Linked DNA regions of Homo sapiens: region 1 is linked to region 2. Evidence: promoter capture Hi-C in 16 types of primary human blood cells and fetal thymus (Javierre and others, 2016). All regions are on one chromosome and are shown on one strand. Each heading gives the region's core, a stretch centred on a gene start or on the middle of the fragment in contact. The rest is flanking DNA. Distances are from core to core; before and after follow the strand shown. Region 1 has its middle 60 kb from the start of PPP1R36. Region 2 holds the start of PPP1R36 (protein phosphatase 1 regulatory subunit 36).

Region 1 (2,700 bases), core at 103-2,602, 60 kb after region 2:
CTGGAGTGCAATGGTGTGATCTCGGCTCACTGCAATCTCTGCCTCATGGGTTCACGCCATTCTCCTGCCTCAGCCTCCCGAGTAGCTGGGACTACAGGCGCCCGCCACCATGCCTGGCTAATTTTTTTGTATTTTTAGTAGAGATGGGGTTTCACCGTGTTAGCCAGGATGGTCTCGATCTCCTGACCTTGTGATCCGCCCGACTCGGCCTCCCAAAGTGCTGGGATTACAGGCATGAGCCACTGCGCCCGGCCTTGTTTCCTATTTTTACAGCTTTATCTTGCTTATACATTTTCATTTGTTTCTTTTTTAAATTAAACTTTTTTTGAGATAATTACTGATTCATATGCAGTTGTAAGAAATAATACACAGAGATCCCGTGAAAGCTTTACCCAGTTTCTCCCAATGGTAGCATCTTGCAAAATTATAGTGCAATTTTACAGTGGATATTGATATTGAACCAGTCAAGACATAGGACATGGCAGGGCATGGTGGCTCATGCCTATAATCCCAGCATTTTGGGAGGCCAAGGCGGGAGGATTGCTTGAGCCCAGGAGCTTGAGACCACCCTGGGCAACATACTGAGACCCCACCTCTACTAAAAAAAAAAAAAAAAAAAAATAGCCGGGCGTAGTGGTGCACACCTGTGGTCCCAGCTACTTGGGAGGCTGAGATGGGAAGATCACTTGAACCCAGGAGGTTGAGGCTGCAGGGAGCTGTGATCATGCCACTGCACTCCAGCCTGGGTGATGCAGCAAGACCCTGTCTAAAACCACCACCACCACCATCAACAACAACAACAAAAACCAAGAGTCCCTCATGTTTTATAGCCACATACACTTCTTATTTCAAGAATGTTGTATGCATGGATTCATTTAGCATGTAATTTACTGGGATTGACTTTTTTACTCAGCATGATTCTCTGGAAATTCCACCCAGGTTGTTGCATTTATCAATAGTTTACTTTTATCGCTAACTAGTATTCTATTATGTGAATGTACCATAGTTTGTTTAATTTGTCCTTTGTAAGTCATCTGTGTTATTTCCAGTTTGGGGCTATTACAAATAAAGCTGCAAACATTCATCTACAGGTTTTTTTGTGTGTGAACGTTAAGTTTTCATTTCTCTGAGCTTATACCTTTTATAGTGAATTGTATTAGGTAGATGTATATAATCATAAATAAGGACTGCCTACTTTCTTTGTATCATGATTGTTATGAGCATGCTATTATCCTTTGTCCTCAGAGCCTCCCACTCTCTAACTCCTCTGTGGTCTAGAAGAAGCAGGTGAAACTTGCAAGGGTTACATGGTTTGTTTGTGGTTCCAGCAAAGCCAGAATTCTGATTTATATCCCTGATTCCTGGCTGAGTATGAAAATGACTGCAATTATTAATATATAGTTGCTATTTGCTTTTTCTCTCCAGAACCCTGGTCAATATGAGCCATGTTTGGTTTCAAGTTGCTTGCTTAGGAAAGGTTCAGAGATGTGATTGGACATTCTTTGATGTGACAAAACAAACATTTCAATAGAGATGGAAGTTCAATTGACTCCTAGTCCCACTTTATCTGGACCTAACATTTGAAGTTAAGATGATAACTTCATGGAATTATAGCTTTATAAAAATCTCTGCTAAAAAGAATGCTCAATTTAGAGAAAGGGACAGAACTAGTCTACCGTGAAACCCAAGCCATGCATTTTTTTTGAAGCCACATCTGACAAGCCTTCAATGGAAGAATAGAGAATGAGAAAGCATGTGCACCTTTTCATTTTTGAGGTTTGAAAGTGACACATACAGCTAAATGCCGCTTTCACTCTCTCTGCCTACATTGATGTAATATCTAGCAATTAAATTATGTTTGCTCATTTATTTCTTTTAGTATTCTGCTCACTCTGTGCCAGGGACTGGGTTGGAGGCTGGAAATCCAGAGATTAATAAGGTGCTCTTCCTATGCTTAAGAGGCTCACAGTCCAGAGGGAAGAACAGGTGCATATCTAAATGGTTACAAGAGGATGTGCTAAGTGCTACTGCAAAGTCCTCAAGTGGCTGTGGTACCAGAAGCAGCATCTAGTGACCACGGGTGGTAGCAGCAGGGGGTTCATTGGACTGGCCAGTCGTGCGGCCTTGCTTGTGGCTGTGGCTAGTTGTCCACCCTCCCTTTATTCTTGTCTGTTTTCTTAGCCATTCTGGAGACTGAACCCAATATTCTTTTTACCCAGTAATTTATCTTTCTGTTTAAATCAGCCAATCTTGATTGATAGGCTGTTAGTATCAGTCTCTTGGGAATACTTCCAGAATTATTTTCTGCATGTAAGGACTAAGCTTCATCTACTTGTGAATATCTTCAAATATTTCCATATAAGCTGGTAAATAGACACTGCTCCAGGCCCCTGAGACCCAGCCACTCTGGCCCCTTTTCTGGGACCCCCTTCTTTACAATCATCTAAAGGGTTATGCCATGCACAGATGTTCTGGCACTACAGGTGGCATTCTTTCTGATTGGTGCCTGTCGTGAGTTACTACACACAACACACACGCACACACACACGATATATATGTGTTACATGTATGTGTGTATAGTATAGTAAGTATATATAAGTATGTATACATAACAAATTTATGTCAAATGGAAACTTACTACACATTCTGTATGGCTAATGTGAGATCTTTCCATATTAACATGTTTAGATTTAATTAATT
Region 2 (2,700 bases), core at 164-2,663:
TCCTTTAATTTTTAAGTAGTTATTGTTTTGGGCTCTCAACTTTTATTTTTACCTAAGTTTTGTACATTAGACAGCCTAAGTTTATTCTGTGATAAGATATATAGATCTTAAGTTTTCTATCAGCACTTCTCCACACATTATTGGGATGAACTGAAGAGGTTTACTGACCACTAGTGTGGTCTTCCCGGTAATGATTATGTAGTGATTGGATGCCATCCAGATTCCTTGGTCTGTCTGCATCTTTTCTTGAGCTTTACCTCATTATTTCCCTGTCCTGTCCACCCCAAGTTATGTTCGCTACTTGGTGAAAAGCTCTTGGCATATGGGATAGTCTCCTTTTCAAGCGTGTCATCTTGTAGTAAGAAAGCCTTGCCTGCGGCCAGTATATAAGTGGGTTTCCATATACCTGGACCAACTGAACAGCTGCCAGAATGGACTCAAGTGAGCAGAACATGAATCTAGATGATTACTATTTAATCACTGTAGCCAGTGATTGTGTATTACCAAGTAGTGAGACTGGGAGGGTGGGAATAGAAGAAGCAGTGGGATGACTACTGACATAACTTAAAAGTTAATGGGAGTATATATCCACTACTTATGAGCCTCTCATACCAATTAAGCTGTGGTGATACAAAAGAATATACTAGGCATTCCCAATCATGTTGCATCATCTAGCATTGCTCACTTAGAGCTGGGAGGAAAAAAATCAGCCAGAATCAGCATTATCAACTCCGTTGCAAGAAGGAATTACAAGACACATGATTTGAAAAGTGTAAATGTAAAAATATCAATTGAATACCCATTGACACTAAGCAAGTTTCTTTGTTTTTGAGCAACACTAATTTTGAGTACTTAAGACTGGTGCTTTACACACACCACTCCAAAAATCCACATAACCCCTGATTTGGTGTTTTCAGAAGAAAGATCAGAATAGTCTTGTCCTAGATTCCACAGCTTGTTAAGCAGCACAACTGTTATGAAAACCTTATTTCCGTACCCATGTTCTCTTCCACGAGGCTACCCTGCTTCCCCACCTCAACCCTGCTCTCCCCATCAACCTAGGTTCATCCTGGATTTGAACTTAATAATAGTGCTAATCATGAAAGTTAGGAAGAAATGGATCTTTCTTCCCTATAGGACTGAATGTAGTTACTCCAATTAAAACAGTAAAGTGAATAACTTCATGAAGTTCAAGGTTGGAATGCCATGAAGAATTATGCCCTGGGCGGCTTTACAATGGATAGGCCAATACGTCGCCACGGCTTTTAAGACTGGGAAACGGGGCACCAGGCTGGGCTTTAGAAATCGCTGGAGAAGCCTGGGTGCGGCCGCAGCCCGCGCGGCCTAGGACGGAAGCGACGCCCCGCCCCGCTCCGCGCCCCGGGCAGCCGTGTGCAGGCGCCTGCGGGCGGTATCCTCGGCGACGCCGTATGGCTTCCAGGGCGAGGCCATGTACCGGGTGCCCGAGTTTTATGCGAGGAGGAAGCGGTTAGGTGGGCAGACCCCTTACTTGATGGATGTAAGTGCAGCCTTGGTCGCCCCCATACCCGGGCTGGGCGCAAGGCGGGCCCTGCTGCCCCCAACCGGCGCCGCGCCCCTCGCCCTCCTCCAGAGGCGGGTCGTCGCCTTCGCCCCGGGCTGGCGGTTCTCAAAGACACCTGGCCATATTTGCCTAGAAAAAAAAAAAACTCTGGTGTATTTGACAGATGGTCAGAATTGAATTCTGGCTCCCTGCGCAGGTAGTTAGATATTTACGAAATCCCACCTCACCACCTCTAATTGGTTGGTTGCAAAATAGGGAGACCTACTGCGGGGGAAGCAGCCCCGCTCTGGATAGAAAGGCTGGTGGGTGCTAGCTTCCACGGTGAAAAGGGTGTACTTAACTTTTTGCCACTGCCTGTAAAGGGCAGGCTCAGTGTTGGAGCCCGGAAGTCTCCAGAACCAGACAGCTGAGGCTGTCCTGGGTATCAGTTTATTGTCTGAATTTCAATTAATTGGTAGATTGCTATGATGAGCTATATGTAGTCCCAATTTCCTTCCTATCTTTCGCCCTTCCCTTCCTCCGCTGCTTCTTTCCTCTTTTCCTACTTTCCTCCCTTCCTTTCTCCCTCTCCCTCCTTCCTGCCGTTCTACTGAAGCCACACCTAAAATCAATCAAAGCGATAAAATCCTAGCTTCAAGTTTAACGCTTTAGGATTCTACACTCTTACTGAAAGTGTAAAGAGGGACTAGTAGGAACCATTGTTTTTTGTTTCCTTCTTATTACTTAAAAGATGTGTTAGTAAGTAGGAATTATTGTTAAAGGTTTATTGTGGCATATGGATTGTAAATTGAGCTTTTAATTATTTTTGCTGCAATCATTTCGTTTTACAGCAGTTGGGATTACGATTAGGGATGTGGTACTGGAAAGATGAAACCAGAACTCTTGAATTCAGAAGGTAAAATTTAACAACACTTTATTAGAGTTTTTATAAAAATTACATGTGCCTGGGGGAAAAAAAAGCAACAGAAGAGTATAGAGAATAAATACCCACTGAACCTTTGCCATCTGGAAGGAAACAATCATTTCAGTGAACAGCCTTTCTCTGAACGCTTACCAGCTGCTTCACATGGACCAGACACTGTGCTAATGTTTACCAACTCTTTGAAACAGCTGCATGTTAACCAATTTACAGATGAAGAAACTGAGGTTTCAAAGGG

Evidence for each region. The method cuts DNA at HindIII sites, captures the fragments that hold promoters and counts their contacts. A CHiCAGO score of 5 or more calls a contact.
Region 1: a fragment that was not itself captured here is called in contact with the fragment with the promoter of PPP1R36 in region 2 in 1 of 17 cell types (megakaryocytes); the score reaches 5.0 in megakaryocytes.

Annotation. Positions count from the first base shown.
Region 1 is chr14:64,608,485-64,611,184 of GRCh38, forward strand. No RefSeq gene overlaps it. Among named protein-coding and RNA genes, the nearest start is that of PPP1R36, 60 kb to the left of the region's middle. The HindIII fragment of the contact is 1,936 bases long and covers 385-2,320 here.
Region 2 is chr14:64,548,548-64,551,247 of GRCh38, forward strand. It overlaps PPP1R36 (protein phosphatase 1 regulatory subunit 36), which reads left to right and starts at 1,414. Exons shown (of 12, transcript NM_172365.3): 1 at 1,414-1,519; 2 at 2,374-2,438. The coding sequence starts at 1,451. RefSeq lists a silencer at 1,280-1,569. The HindIII fragment of the contact is 10,629 bases long and covers 1-2,700 here.